Linked DNA regions of Homo sapiens: all the other regions are linked to region 4. The links are contacts of gene promoters, found by promoter capture Hi-C in blood cells and fetal thymus (Javierre and others, 2016). All regions are on one chromosome and are shown on one strand. Each heading gives the region's core, a stretch centred on a gene start or on the middle of the fragment in contact. The rest is flanking DNA. Distances are from core to core; before and after follow the strand shown. Region 1 overlaps UGGT2 (UDP-glucose glycoprotein glucosyltransferase 2). Region 2 holds the start of TGDS (TDP-glucose 4,6-dehydratase). Region 3 has its middle 49 kb from the start of LINC00391. Region 4 holds the start of ABCC4 (ATP binding cassette subfamily C member 4 (PEL blood group)).

Evidence for each region. The method cuts DNA at HindIII sites, captures the fragments that hold promoters and counts their contacts. A CHiCAGO score of 5 or more calls a contact.
Region 1: a fragment that was not itself captured here is called in contact with the fragment with the promoter of ABCC4 in region 4 in 2 of 17 cell types (endothelial precursors and M2 macrophages); the score reaches 8.4 in endothelial precursors.
Region 2: a contact is called between the fragment with the promoter of TGDS here and the fragment with the promoter of ABCC4 in region 4, in 2 of 17 cell types (non-activated CD4 T cells and activated CD4 T cells). The highest score is 6.1, in non-activated CD4 T cells.
Region 3: a contact is called between a fragment that was not itself captured here and the fragment with the promoter of ABCC4 in region 4, in 1 of 17 cell types (erythroblasts). The highest score is 5.8, in erythroblasts.

What each region holds. Positions count from the first base shown.
Region 1 is chr13:95,834,799-95,838,875 of GRCh38, forward strand. UGGT2 (UDP-glucose glycoprotein glucosyltransferase 2) reads right to left here. Exons shown (of 39, transcript NM_020121.4): 37 at 2,288-2,404. Among named protein-coding and RNA genes, the nearest start is that of DNAJC3, 160 kb to the left of the region's middle. The HindIII fragment of the contact is 621 bases long and covers 1,921-2,541 here.
Region 2 is chr13:94,594,846-94,598,467 of GRCh38, forward strand. It overlaps TGDS (TDP-glucose 4,6-dehydratase), which reads right to left and starts at 1,307. Exons shown (of 12, transcript NM_014305.4): 1 at 1,206-1,307. The coding sequence starts at 1,291. RefSeq lists an enhancer at 1,171-1,480. The HindIII fragment of the contact is 5,991 bases long and covers 1-3,622 here.
Region 3 is chr13:94,657,184-94,660,875 of GRCh38, forward strand. No RefSeq gene overlaps it. Among named protein-coding and RNA genes, the nearest start is that of LINC00391, 49 kb to the right of the region's middle. RefSeq lists an enhancer at 3,585-3,692. The HindIII fragment of the contact is 364 bases long and covers 1,704-2,067 here.
Region 4 is chr13:95,298,742-95,302,906 of GRCh38, forward strand. It overlaps ABCC4 (ATP binding cassette subfamily C member 4 (PEL blood group)), which reads right to left and starts at 2,710. Exons shown (of 31, transcript NM_005845.5): 1 at 2,500-2,710. The coding sequence starts at 2,573. It overlaps LOC102724149 (a long non-coding RNA gene), which reads left to right and starts at 2,210. Exons shown (of 3, transcript XR_429273.4): 1 at 2,210-2,522; 2 at 3,205-3,585. RefSeq lists enhancers at 993-1,052, 2,655-3,429 and silencers at 2,246-2,885, 2,916-2,975, 3,156-3,215. The HindIII fragment of the contact is 3,485 bases long and covers 792-4,165 here.

The DNA of each region.
Region 1 (4,077 bases), core at 981-3,480, 540 kb after region 4:
ACTCCCACCAAGGGGCCATGCCTTTAGGATTCAAGATATATGTTCTCCACACTTTTTTTCCCCTTCCCTCCAGATTGGTACTATCCAATACAAATGCAATGAAAACCATACACATAATTTGTGGGTTTTTTCACTAGAAAAATACTAAATTTTTCTAGTAGCCATGTATAAAAATGTAAGAGGAATAGGTGAAATAAATTTTAATACTATATTTTATTCAACCCAATATATCCAAAATACTAAGTCAACATGTAATCAATACAAAAATTAGTAATGAGATATATGTTATTTTCATTGTATTGAGTATTCAAAATCTGGTGTGTACTTTATACCTTACAGCACATCTCAATTCAGAATAGCAACATGTTAAGGGCTCAACAGCCACATAAGGCAAGTGGCTACTGCACTGGAAGAAGCAGTTACAGGTGGACAAAAAGTACTCCCTGAGACATGGCACACAGGAGGGCTACTCAATGACGGAGATATCCACTTAGGTCTGCTGCTGGAATGAGTATGAAGCCACTGAATTTTGGGGGTTTGTTATGGTAGCTCATGTTAGTCTAAGTACTAAAGATCCCAAAATGACCTACACCACTACTGTATGAGCCACAACAGAACCCTAACAACATATTAGTAGTTGTGTTCAATAATGTTCTTGGCCTCTCTTTATGAAATTCCCTTGCTTACCTCTTAAAAATGCCTTTTTATTTGTTTCTGCTATATTCTACCAACTATGATTACATTCTAACATGCTGGCATGCTATTTTTAAAATATGTATTTCTATACATGTCTGAAAAAGTTCCTATATTTTGTTTTCCTGCTCTTTTTTGTTCAAAATTGTGTGAATTCTAACATTTTAATAGCTTATTCGTCAGTGAAGATCTTGTAAACAATTTTCTACACTTAGCACATTAAAAACAATATACTAGGAAAAAAACTTATTATACCTACTAAAGACAAGGTAGTAGTGGAATATAAAATCTAAATGGACAACAAATAAATTACTTTGAAATATTTTATGTTTAGGAGAGTTAAACTGCACAGCATAAACTGCTTTAAATGAAAATCTAGGAAAAATAATCTCTTAAAAATAAGTAAGAAAAAAGCATGTATGATATATTTTAAGTAGACAAAATTGTCTTGTTTGCCTTTATTTGGGGGAAAATATTGGCAGGATAACTAAACTGAAGACATGTCAAGATGATAGCTAATCCACAAACATTTTCAGCTAGCTCTCAGCCCTTTTTTTTTGTTTGTTTGTTTTTTTGAAATGGAGTTTTGCTCTTGTCTCCAGGCTGGAGTGTAGTGGCGCCATCTCCGCTCTCTGCAACCTCTGCCTCCCAGGTTCAAGCAATTCTCCTGCCTCAGCCTCCTGAGTAGCTGGGACTACAGGCATGTGCCACCACGCCCAGCTAATTTTTTGTAATTTTAGTAGAGATGGGGTTTCATCATGTTAGCAACGCTGGTCTCGAAGTCCTGACCTGAGGTGATCCACCTGCCTCGGCCTCTTAAAGTGCAGGGATTACAGGCGTAAGCCACCGTGCCCAGCCCTCTAAGCCTTTTTTTCAAAAGTCCTTTTGCAGAAAAGAGTTAATACAGAAAGCCTGAAATTGCTATTCTTAGAAAGACCTGCTTGTAAGTTTGGCTCCTCGCTGGCATCTGGGAACACAGGGTTCAGGATGGTTCTCACCATTCCTTTATAAGAGTAACTCACTGTGTCTAAATTATCTGTGCAAAGGTGTTTATGCTAAACACTTGCTTTCCTCCTGAGTGCTGGAAATTTAGGTGTGTCTCAGGCAGACAGTGCTATATGGTCACCAGCCCCCAGTAAAACCCCTGGACACTGGGGTTTCTAATAAATGTCCTTAGTAGGTAATACTTCACACTGGTTGTGGAATCTCTTATTGCTTGAGGAATGAAGCTTGTCCCGTGTGATATCACAGAGAAAGGACTCTTGGAATCTTGCACCTGATTTTCTCTTTGCCCCATGTGCCTTTTCCCTTTGCTGACTTTGCTTTATATCCTTTCACTGTGATAAATCAAGCCATGAATATGATTATATTTTGCATCTCATGAATCTCCTTAGTGAATCATCAAACCTCAGGGTGGTCTTGGGGGCCCCCAAAATAACCCTATACTTGCCAACCTAAGTAAATGTGTAATAGACTGAACAGCAGAAGAAGCGAAGTAATACGTATGCCACTCCCTTTGTAAAACAGAAAGAAAATATTTCTATTTAAACATTTCTGTATCTGCTTACATACAAATGAAAACAAAGACACTCACCAGATCAATTGTTTTGGCTCTTTGTTTGGATTCATCATCACACCAGGTTTCACACCACAGCCAGTCTTGAGGAAGAGACTTAATGGCGACTTGGTAAATCATATTATTGGGGAGATCCTACAGAAAATTGTGATTTAATCATAGACGTATGAAATTTAGAGTCAGAAGGAAAGAAGCTGAATGAAGTAAGACATCAGTTAGACTGTAAACAGATCATAAAACATATGCAAATCTGAGATTTCTCTACACTTTAAAGCTTAAAATACCTAAGGTGATCCAATCATCTTGTGTCATGAATGAATCCATGCACTGGAATATACCTACATCTCTCCTAGACTCTACCCCTGGGAACAAGGATGAAGAAGGAGGCATAGAAACCTACCATTCAATAGTCCCCACAATGGACAGCCTCACTACCTCTATCTGCCTCTATTGCTCACATTATGCCTGCAATTACTGTTCATATTGGTCACCACAATGCTCTCTGGATTCTGAGGTGAATTTTCATCTCCCCATTGGAAACAATGATCCATGAATATTTTCCCATTTCTGCATGCTCAGAGCTCTCTAAGTAAAGATTGCTGGCATCTGGGTTAATGGATGTTTGACTGGCAAACTAGCCTAGTAAGTTAGAGACCTTTGGAGAGAATCAGACAAATCTTCCCCAGAGATATTTGTTTATATTCCAGGGGTGGAGTCCTTCCCTTCCTTTCCCTATAGAAGATCTGCTTATATTCAAGAGCAAAGGCATGTTCCTCTCTCTCCAAGAGTATGAAGGGTACTTGTGCTGGTTGTCCTACATAAGCTCCAAGATTCACAATTTTAAGGTTCTTCTCTCAACATCCCTATTAAACATCACACTGAAAGTCCTAGCAAATGCAATAAGACAAGAAAAGGAAAATGTATATAGATTGGGAAGGGAAAAAAACCTGTCACTGTTTGTGATAACAGGATTGTTTATGCAGAAAATCCCAAGAATCAAGGGAAAAAACTTCTGGAACTGATAAGCAATTTTAGCAATGTTACAAGATAAAAAGTTAATATACAAAAGTCAACTGCTTTTCTATATACCAGCAATGAACAAACATAATTTGAAATTTAAGAAAACACACCATTTACATTAGCACCGAAAAAGAGAAATACTTAAACATAAATCTAATAAAATATGTTCCTCAACAAAATGAAAACTACAAAATTCTGAGGAAAGAAATCAAAGAACACTGAAATACATGAAGAGATATTCTATGTTCACACATAGGAAGACTCCATAGTCAAGATAACAGTTCTTCCCAGATTTATCTATAGACTTAACACAATCCCAATCAAAGGCTTAGCAAGTTATTTTGTGGAGATTGGCCAACTGATTCTAAAGTTTAGGGAAAAAGGAAAAGATCCAGAATATCCAACACAATATTGAAGAATAAAGTCAGAGGGCTGACACTACCACACTTGAAGTCTTACTATAAAGTTACAGTAATCAAAACAGTGTGGTATTGGAAAAATAAGAGACAAATACATCAATGGAACACAATAAAGAGCCCAGAAATAGAAAATTACCCATACTTTCTGCTCATTTTTTTTGTAAACCTAAGACTGCTCTAAAAAAATAAAGTCCGTTAATCAAAGAAAGAAAAACCTTAACTGTCCCTTCTGACACCCTTAGTTCCTTGGAATCCCTTCCTTAAATAACCTGGCCTACCATATTATCTAAGCTACTAACTCAAATGGTTATATACTAGACCAAGTCTTCTATACTTTCAATTTCATGGTGCCACTCTCTGACCACCTCT
Region 2 (3,622 bases), core at 57-2,556, 710 kb before region 4:
CTGAGTTCCTTGAGGGGAGGATAGGAGAGTTTCCTGTTTATTACTCTTGCATTCATCCATTCCACAATTACTAAAGACTTATATAGAATGGGCCAGGCATTCTTCCAGGTGCTGAATGAACAGTAGTCTCTGTCCTTACCGAGTTTGCATTTTAGAGTGGGGATACAAGCAATAAACAAGCAGACACAAATCCGCAATATAATTTCAGGTAGAGGTTAAGTGTGCTAGTTGGGAGAGGGGCTATTTTAGATATGGTGGTCAGGTAAGAACTCTCTGAGGTGCTATCTGAATAAAAACCAGAATTGAGTGGTGCAAACAGCCTAAGGAAAGGGGAAGCAAGTGCAAAGGCCTCAAGACAGAAGTGTGTATCTTGGTGTGTTCCAAGAACTAAGAGGGGAAGCATGGCAGGTACAGAAAAGCAGATCAGGTTGCAAAAGTAGGGCTTGGGCACTTGAGTTTTCTAGATATGGTAGAGTTTGGGCTTTATTCTTAAGTGTGGCAGGAACCACTGAAGTAAAATCCTGCTTCTACCATGATCTGATTGACTTAAGAAACACTGACTTGTATGTGAGCAACAGGCTTTAAAGGAACATGAGTGGACGCAGTTATGGCCAACCAAGAGGCTACAGCAGCAGTCGAGGCAAAAGATGACAGTAAACATGGGCTAGGGTGGAAACGGGAAACTGGTGAGAAGTGGTCGCCGTAAGGATATACTTTGGAAGTAGAGAGGACTTGCTGCTCGAATGTGGGTCTGAGGAAGAAAAGGGTGTCAACAGTGGATTTGTAAAAGTTTGCTGATTACATAGATGTCCTATTATAGTCCTTAAATCGTTTTGGGGGTGCCTATATGTACAGGGCCCATCGTGGGGTGTGGGTGCTCTAGGCTGGAGGTGGGAAGCAGTCGGTGAGCAGCTTAGGGTAACTTGCACGCACTCAAGGAGTGACATGGTGAGCACCTCCGGCCACAGAAGGGCGGAGAGTAACGCAGCTTTGGAAGAGGCGTTTTAAAGAAGTCAGTTTCAAAGGAACCACTTCTTTGCAGGCCAGAGAGAGAAAAGCTGGTCCAGGTCGTGCATTAGGACCCTCCCCATATCAGAATAAGGACCCCTCAAAGCTGGACCCAAATTACCTAGGGCAAGCAGAGCTGCGGGAAAAGGTAGGGGTTTCTGGGGAGCCACTGCTTGGCTAGCGGCGCCATTACCTACATGAAACCAGCACCGCCGGTCACCAGGACCCGCTTCGCAAAGCCGCCGGGAAGACCCCACGGTTCCTCCCAACACGCCGCCGACATCTCCCAGCTCAGCAGTGCCTAGTACCGTAAAGAGTATGGTCTGAAAAGCGCAGGGAAGTTCCGCCGCGACCTTTTGCGACGCGCCTCGCTCGCGGGACACGTTAACAGAGCAGCCAGAGGCAGCTTCCGGAGACTGCTCTGTGGCCAGTTTCTGCCCGCCCACTAGCGGGCTGGGCGGGGCCGCGCTCACCACGCGCAGGCGCTGCTCCTTTCCGCCCTTGCCTGGTCCGCCAGGTGCAATTGGGGTCGCCCGGATGGTAGGGGTATGGAACGTTTTTCCCGGAAATGCCACCACTATGGATCAGATTTATGAATGAGTACCTTTTTTCATTCTTGTACTACAGCCATCTCTAGAGGTTACCTATCAGTTGAGCTGAGAACGGGGAGTTGTTGCAGATGGAGATGGGAGGTTGCAATTTAAAAATGATTTTTTTTTTTAGTGGGGCGGGGACAGGGTCTCCCTCTGTTACCCAGGCTGGAGTGCAGTGGTGCGATCACGGCTCACTGCAGCGTCGACCAATGGGGCTCAAGCAATCCTCCCACCTCAGCCTCCTGAGTAGCTAGGAATACAGTCGTGCGCCACCACGCCCGCCTAATTTTTGGTAGAGATGGGTTTCGCCCTGTTGTCCAGGCTGGTCTCGAACTCCTGGGATCTAGCCAACCTCCCGCCTCAGCCTCCCAAGGTCCTGGGATTACAGGCGTGAGCACCGTGCCTGGCCTGCAAAATGATCTTTTGCTGTTGTTAATATTATTTCAGGCCGGGCGCCGTGGCTTACGCCTGTAATCCCAGGACTTTGGGAGGCCGAGGTGGGCGGATCACCTGAGGTCAGGATTCGAGACCAGCTTGGCCAACATGGTGAAACCCTGTCTCTACTAAAAATACAAAAATTAGCCGGGCGTGGTGGCGGGCGCCTGTAATCCCAGCTACTTGGGAGGCCGAGGCAGGAGAATTGCTTGAACCCGGAAGGCAGAGGTTGCAGTGAGCCGAGACCGCACCATCGCACTCCAGCCTGGGCAACAACAGCAAAACTCCGTCTCAAAAAATAATAATATTATTATTACAGACAGCGCAGAAGGCTTGCAATCATGATAAAGATATTCCCTAGGTCCTACGCTGATGTCTTATTCTATTCTCTCCTTTGCTCACTCCGCCCCAGCCTCCCCACCCTCCTTGCTCTTCATTCAATGTGCCAGGCATGCTACTTCCCCGGGACCTTGATTGTCTTTCCCCAGATGTCTGCCTAGTTTTTACCCTTACTTCCGTTTTCAGCTTGAATGGCATCCTATTGACCACCACAATTAAAATAGCGAGCTCTGCCCAACCCTGCCGAATCATCTTATCCTTCTTTATTTTTCTTCCTAGCACTCAACATTTACATTGATGTCACTGCCCTCTGTTTAGTGTTCCATGAGGTCAGGGGCTTTGTTTTGTTTTCTGCTGTAATCGCATGTCCTTAGAGACTTGGCACAGAATAAATGACCATTAAATATTGTCGAATAGATAAATATCTTTTTTTCCCCACCATAATGTTTGGCAAAGCTGAAAACGAATGGAAACATCCAGTACAGGTGTATATGTGGAAGAATCATACCACAACCTTTTTACAAGGCAAAGTGGTAAAACATATGAAAATTTCAAATGTTCATATTCTATGACCCCCTCAAATTCCATGATGTATAATATAGATAATTGTTCATTGCTGTATTGCTTGCAATAATGAAACACTGGAAATAATCTAAATGTGTATAATGTCTTCTAACTTTTAAAATGCAGTAAACTGCTATATAGCCTTTAAAAAGAATATACCAACATGGAATGAAGACCAAAATATATTGCAGTCGATACGTACAGTTTTTTTCTGACCAGACTCCTCCCCCCACTGTCCTTTATGATCTCCCCAAGTTGACCCAGGCAGGCCACAGAATGAAATCTGGCTGACTCTAGGCCAACTGAAGCCTCTTCTTGGGATTTAGAATTCGACTAAGGTGCTAGTATAGTCTGGTTACTCTACTTGAACTCTGAGGTCCTACAAAGCTGGAACTTTTTGGTGGCCATGTTCTTTCAAAGTGAGGAGCCAGAAAGCCTGTCTTCACAGTGAGAAAAACAAAGTTGATTGAGAAGAAAGAAAAGATAGGAAAGGCCTAACATTCAAGGCCTGTGTTATGATTTCTCTTCAGGACCAGTTTTATTCCTGTCCTTGGTTTACAAATACCACATATATTTGTGGTATTTGTAATACCACATATATTTGTGGTATTTGTGGCTTACTTGAAAGGATTGACCCTAAACTCTTAAAATAAGTTACCTTTAGGGATGAGATATGGGCAGGG
Region 3 (3,692 bases), core at 636-3,135, 640 kb before region 4:
ATGTGACTGCATTAATTCAGCCATGAAACCAGGGTATGCTTAGGTGAATGAGGAGTAAATACAAAAACACTTTATTGAATAGCATGCTAGAAGCAGTGAAAAGAAGTGGGTGTGGAAGGTTTTCAAAAGGAGTTTAGTGTGAAGGATGCTGTATATGCTGTTGCCAATGCATGGAACACAGTGGCTAATGACACAGCTGTGCATGTCTGGCGCAACCTCTGGCTTGTGACTATGTTCAGTGCTGATGATAAAGACATTGGATATTCTTGTACACTTATGAAAGCAATTCTCTAAGACATACACTGACGGGTGGGGCCACTGGGTCACAGACGACACATATATTCAACCTTACGAGGTAATCCCCAACTATTTTCTACAGTGGTTCTACCAAATTATACCCCAACCATCAATTTATAGAAATTTTTGTTTCTTTTTAAGTATTCGTCATTTTTTTCTGTAAAGAAATGGAAGTGGCCTAGAATGACAAAGATACTTTATATAGGTGCTTTTTAGAATTCGTTTTTAAGGACTTCTTCAGGATGATCTCATTCCTACTCACACATGTGAGTGCACCATTTGTTTGCTGTGCAATACTACTTACATATCTATTACGTATCTATTTATATTGTTATTTAGTTTTTCAGGCGTTTGTCTTTTCCTCTCCAACTAGATCAAAAGCTACGTGAGGGCCAGGAGGCAGGTATGGCCATTTTTGCCTACCCAGCATCTGTTCCCTTCTTTTGGAAGCAGCATCTCAATTTCCCTCTAGAGAATCACCTCTAACCACTCTCTCAATCCATAGTCTCAATGAGGTTCACTCCCCTCCCCATCCCCAAAGTTGCATGTCTATTCTAAGCACAGGTCAGCAGGGACACATGACTTAGGTTGTGCCTAAGGTCAGCCCAGTGAGACTCAATTTTGCAACTTTTGTTGGAAATTTTGGGAAAGTTTTGTTTTGATTTTTTATTCTGTGGCTTCTGAACCAATAGGATGCTTAGAGGTGCTGAAGGTCATCATGCAACTGCATGAAGTAGACCTGCCTGAGGGTGAATTCAATGCAGAAGAAAGAAGCACCAAATGGGGGAAGAGACTGATTTCTGGATCCAGCTGTGCCGGGAGCCAGTGAAAGCCTCTGGCTTTTCAGTTACATAAACCAATGAGAAAGTCTCTCTGTTCTCACTCCAAGTCCTGACTTATGTATAATTTATTCAAAAAGTTTATTTGTTTGTTTGTTTGGTTGGTTGTTTTTCAAGATGAAGTCTCGCTCTATTGCCCAGGCTGGAGTGCAGTGGTGTGATCTGGGCTCACTGCAACCTCCACCTCCCAGGTTCAAGCGATTCTCCTGCCTCAGCCTCCCAAGTAGCTGGGATTACAGGTGCCTGCCACCAGGCCCTGCTAATTTTTGTATTTTTTTTTTAGTGGGGATGGGGTTTCACCTTGTTGGCCAGGCATGTCTCAAACTCTTGGGCTCGAGCAATCTTCCCACCTCAGCCTCCCAAAACGCTGGAATAACAGGTATAAACCACTGCATGTGGCCTCAAAAAGTATTTATTACCCGCCCATGCTAGGGTTAAAGATACAGCAATGAACATGTTCTATGAATGTTTGTTTTGATTTCTATTTGAATGATCTTGCTATTGTGAAATTATAGGTTTAGCCTCTAATAATTTTTAAAATAGACACTTATAAGTAAACCATTTTCAAGCTTCCTCAAGAAGCAGTTGGTAAACATGTTTGTTCAATATGTTAAAATATTAAACCAATGCTCTTATATTCTGGTACTCAGTACTCTTACAGAATATAAATAAGAAATAGTCCCTACTTTAGAATGGCTTATGATATCATCTAATGGGAAAGATAGCACAATTGGAGGGAGGAAAACCCTCAGGCTCCTAAAACTGATAACAGACACAAGTGCAATACATAGTTCAGAGAGAGAGAGAGAGAGAGAGAATGAACAGGCATGTGTGTATATCCTAAGAACATTCTGAACTGAGTAGATGTCCACACCTAGGTGAAATAATAAAGGAGAAAGCCTGGAGTGGATCTTGATTTTGTGGGAAGTGAAGCTTATACAATTTATATAAGGGTCCTCCTTAAGAAAACAAATGCAAAGTTAGGCATAAGGTCTTAGCTGGTGCAAGCAAGGCCCTGAAGCTTAAGATTTGTTAGCTTCAGGGTTGATCTGCCTACGCAGGAGAGGTCTGAGTATGTGCAAAATCCCAAGTGGTGGTTCAAGGAAGTACAAACAGGTTTAACTAACTAGGGTGGGAAAGGAAAGCTAGCAGATAGAGGAAATGACAATTACATTACTAACTGATTGATTGAAAAGGCTGGTCATTTTAGGGATCCTAAAAGCTAAGGAGATTAAGTTTCATGATTATGTAATTGGGAACTAGAGCAGATTTCTAAGAAGGAAAGTTGCATGGTTAGGGAAAAATTTCTTGCCACTGGGTTTAAGATTAATTAATCCATAAATAAAAGTAGGTACTAGGGCTCCTAGAGATATTTGTAGCAAGAAATGATGATTTTGTGGACCAGGATGGAGATTGCAGAAACTGAAAGGAAGGAAATGAAGTCATATCCAAGTGATTTTGAAGGAAATAGTCTAAATATGTGGAAGAAAACAGGACTGAAAGGTCTGGAAGTTTTCAAGGCTGAAGTGCAGAGGTTGGCAATGGATTCATTTTGATGTTACTTTTTTCTAACATAAGCTTCTTGCAGGTCAGGATTTAGGGCTTTAGGATTATTTTGCACTATTTTTTGTAGATGCACATTTAGTACATATCTAATATTCTTTAATATTCCAGTAATGTAAGAAATCTTGATAGTGTTTCCATGTGAGCTATTAAGGGGGAAAACTGTATAGCCCCTTCCATGATGAATGGAAGTGCTAGATTCCAAAACTACATACTCCAGAAGAGGAATGTGACTGGCAACGTGGTCAAAGGAAAAGAAGTTAGCCTTCGGGTTTGGAAATCTCTCCCTGTCTCCATGTTCTGAGCTTAAAATATTCAGATGGCTTCAGCTCAGTTACAGCCTCCCTTGGGTGTCCACAGGGGCCTTGAAGGAAGCAGAAGAGAGTTCATCTCACCTGTAAACACTGAAGTAAATGGATGGCCCACCCTTTGTATGCAGAGTGAAGAAAAAGGATTAAACACTGGCGTGGCAATGATGACCAGGCATTTTCTTGGAGGTTACACTTGAAAAACATATAGGGTTTTTCAATCATTTAAAGATAATTCTATCCCAAAGGATTGAAATAATCCAGTTTGGGCCAAACCTACCTGAAAACAAGACATAGAACATTTCTATGATTTACTCATTTTCCCTTCAGAAACTCAAATCTACCACCAGCAATATTGAAAAGATAGAGTGCATTACACCCTGCTATTCACTGATTTCAGCAATGGAAGTGTGAACGTGGGAAACCTGAGTTTATTCATCAGTTTTAAGAAAACCCTCAAGATATAAAGCTGGCTCTGTGGGAATCTTTAGTCTGATTGCTCTAAGAGCAATAGCCACTGTCTAGGAGCAAAAAAGGAGGAATTTAGTGGAAGCTCAGTTCAATTCTAAATGATCTGACTTTGGTTTTATCTGCAGTTTCTTTGCTATGAACCTATAAACAAACCAATAGGGCAGTTTTGGAAAGGAGAGTATTCACAAATCATAGTAACAAGAGTCAGGCCACT
Region 4 (4,165 bases), core at 1,460-3,959:
GGGAGCCAGTCTGCCCAGCTTTGGAGCCTGCTCTGACACTTGATTGTTGTGTGAGTCCAGGCAACTTAACCACTCTCAGCTTAAGTGTCCTCGGAGTAAAACAGAGGTCTACTAGCTCCTTCCCTTCCATCAGGGAAACCGGAAATGAACACCTACTCAAGTCATCAATGGGAGCGCATCACTTCCTATTTCCCTGCCACCTACATTTTGAAAATGCAGGGGGAGAAAAATATAAGGAGGCAGGAGTCACATCTGTAATCCCAGACTTTGGGTGGCCGAAGCGGGAGGAACACTTGAGCCCAGGAGTTCAAGACCAGCCTGAGCAACAACATAGAGAGCCCTATCTCTACAAAAAAAATTTTTTTTTATTATCCGGGCATGGTGACACACACCTGGAGCCCCAGCTACTCGGGAGGCTGAGGCAGGAGGATTGCTTCGGCCCAGGAGTTGGAGGCTGCAGCAAGCTATGAATGTGTCACTGCCCTCCAGCCTGGGTCACAGCTTGCACAAAGCAAGATCCTGTCTCAAAAAAAAAAAAAAAAAGTTCCTTGCCCTGCCTGAAGTTGAGGAGACCATTTGTCTACCTCAAGTTATTATTTGCAGAAACCACACCCATATTCCTTCCTCCTCCACGTGCCCCTCTCCTTAAGAGAAAGGCCGCCAAACAACCAAGAGAAGTTCCTACACCCACTGAGTGTACCACAATCGAAACAAGAGTAAGCGACTCATCCTCTTGGAATCCCCTAGGTCAAGCTTGTCCAACCTGAGGCCCATGGGCTGCCAAATTCGTAAGCTTTCTTAAAACATCAGATTTTTTTTTGCGATTTTTTTTTAGCTCATCAGCTATCATTAGTGTTAGTGTATGATTAGTGTTAGTGTATTTTATGTATGGCCCAAGACAATTCTTCCAGTGTGGCCCAGGGAACCCAAAAAATTGGAGACCCCCACCCTAGGTTGTCCCATAATAAAAGGCAATATCAACATGTGGGAAAGATGAGGCGGCAGAGGTCAAGAAACAGAAGATCTAATAATCATCCAAGTGAGATTGAAGCCCTTCAAAGGTTCAGGCTTATGTAGTTAGCAGACGGAATTCCCCCACACACACCCGCCACTCCCCCAAGACGGAGTCTCACTCTGTCACCCAGGCTGGAGTACAGTGGGGCGATCTCAGCTCACTGCAACCTCCGCCTACTGGGTTCAAGCAATTCCCCTGCCTCAGCCTCCTGAGTAGCTGGGATTACAGGCGTGCTCCACCACACCCGGCTAATTTTTGTATTTTTAGTAGAGACGGGGTTTCACCATGTCAGCCAGGCTGGTCTCGAACTCCTGACCTCGTGATCCACCCACCTCTGCCTCCCAAAGTGCAGGGATACAGGCGTGAGCCACCGCGCCAGGCCAAGATGGAAATTTTAGTTACTACTGTCACCCGAGTCTTTCTCCGTTTGTTTCCTTGCACAAAATGGGTAGGGCTGTGGGCCCTCCCAGCTCAGGAGCCCTGGGGTGGTTTTAAGAAGGTAGAACTCCTGGTAGGAACCACCTGCATCAAGACCATGGATCACCTCTCTGAAGGTTAGCGATTCCAGGGACCCCACCTCCGAGCTGTCCTCCTACGTGGAAGTGAAAGTATTGGAAACAGGGGAAAGAAGCTGGTCAAAGACAGACTCCAGTCGTGGCGGTGCATGTCCCAGTTAAAAGCAAATCCTGGAAAATCTTGTTCAAGAACAGGGTCCCCATTCATAAATGAAAAATAATAATAGTGTTATTTTACCCACATGAAACTTGCCATAACTAGGTACCACGACCCACATGGACACACAGTGAGATTCCCACAAAGAGGCAAAAGGAGAGCCCTGGTCACTGAGACAAAAGATACAGAGACACCGGGACACAGAGAGGTACAACGGGACGTGGAGTTGGATCGAGCTGTCTCGTAAGGAATATCGGAAGGGGTGGGGACACTACTGGGAGATGGCATAGGTCCAGGACACTAATTAGGCTTTGGCTGAGATCAGATAAAGGAAACTGTTCGTAAGCTGCTTACTTAAAAAGAAAGGAAAAGGTGCGTTTGAGTTCAGGAGACTGCGAGTCCCAGAGCAGGAGGCGGGAGCCAGCGAAGGGTGGGCGTGTAAGGGGTGCAGTCGCTTCTCCCGCTGGGCAAGAGACTCCCCCTTTCGGCAGCCTGGGTTCCCCGCCTCCCCACCTCCTGCTCCTCCTCCCCCGAGCCCTAAGGGCCCGCAGGGCCTCCAGTAGCAAAGCCACTGGCCCCGCGTCCCCGCGTCCCCCTGCGCCGCGCCCCGGGGCGCAGGCAGGGACCACGCGGCCGGCGTGGGGGCGGCGCCACCCGCAGCAGAAAGCCCCGGCGTGGACCGCGTGGCGTAGGAAAGCGCTCCCCTCGCCCCCAGCCGCAGAGGGCTTGGGCAGCATCGGGCGCGGCCCCGGGAGAGTGCGTCCGCGGCGCCAGCGGCTGCAGGGTGACCTGTTTCGGGCGGGGACACTCACCAGAAGAACACGCGTGAGCAGAGGTTCGCGTCCTGCAGCGGGTTGGGCTTCACCTCCTGGTACACGGGCAGCATCTTGCCGGGCGGGGCGGGCGCGGGCCGGGGTCGCGCTGATCAGGCGGCGGTGGCCGCGGGCTCCGCTCCTGGACCTCAAGCAGGGATGCTGGGGCTCCGGCCGCCACGCCTGTCCGCTCGGCTGGAGCCTGTGAAGCAGCCGCTTCCGGGAGCCGGGCGCCGGCGGCACGCCCCGTCCCCGCCTCTCAGGCCCGCCGCCTCGGGGGCGCCCGCTACGCGCCGCCGCCTGGAGCCCGGGAGCTGCGCACCGCGTGCGAGCGCGGCCGGGACCGACGGGTGACGCGGCGGGAGGAGACGCGGCGGGAGGAGGCGAAGCTGGCGACGCCAAAGGGAGCCCAGAGCTACGCCCAGGGGTGAGGCGAGGGCCGCCTGCGCCGCTGGATGGAGAGGGTAGCAGAGCGCGCGGCAAGGAGGCCGGGTCCGGAGGTGCCCACGTGCACGAACCCGAGTGAAACTTTCCGAAATTCACTATCCGAGTCTAGGCGCCGACACAGAAGGTGGAGCAGGGAGGCGTCGGCTGTGCCCGCCCCTGCGCCGCAGAAACGCCCCCTCGGCTACGGGTTTGGGAAGACTGGGAGACAGCTGCCTCGTGCTCTAGCAGCCCGCCCCCTGGGCGCCTTTCCCTTCTCAGGACCAAACGACGGTGCCATGGGAGGCTCTTCAACCTGTGAGCCAAACATTTGACCTTGGACGACAGCAAAGTTTAGCCACAGATTATCCTTGTAGAGCTGCAAGACCTCAAGAAAGCCGGGTAACTCGAGAGTATGACCCAGATGAATTCGGGAGATGGATGAATGCTGTCGTCGATGGGGGCGGGCTTTAGGCATCTCACATGTTGCATGCTACGGTGGACCTCTGAGCTTTTTGCTGCCCCCTTAGATTGGGAAAGGAATATAAGAGGAAAGAGAGACTGCCTGATGATTTCTGTCGTCAAGCCCTAAAGCCTAACAGATAACAGTGGCAAACGACACGTGGGTTCCAGAATACCAGTGATGTTCATGTGCATTTCTGAGTGCGTAGCCTCACTAGTGTGTGTGTGTGTGTGTGTGTGTGGCAGTCTCACACACAGTGTCACGATTATGGCTCATTGCACCCTCGACCTCCCAGGGCTCAAGCAATCCTCCCAACTCAGTTTAAGTAGCTAGGACTACAGGCACCCGCCACCACACCCGGCTCATATTTTGTAATTTTTGTAGAGATGCAAAAATCAAAATCAAAGGCTCCAAGTTCAAATACTGATAATTTTTGAAGCCAAATGATTGTCATGGAGGTTTATTTTCTTCATATTTCATGCATGTTTGAGAATTTGGTTTTCTTTGTAATAAGATCATTTTATTGTTCCTTGATAATTTCTCACTTTGTTGCCCAGGCTGGTCTCAAACTCCTAGGCTCAAGTGATCCTCCCACCGTGGCCTCCCAAAGTGCTAGGATTACAGGCATGTACCACCACGCCCGACCAATTATCTCACTTTTAATTCTATCAGTGCCCCATTCAAGGTTATCCTTACTTTATAGATGAGGAAGGTGAAGCTGAAAGGCAGAACTTGTCCAGTCTTAGAGCCAAGAAAGGATAAAACATGATTTGCAATAAG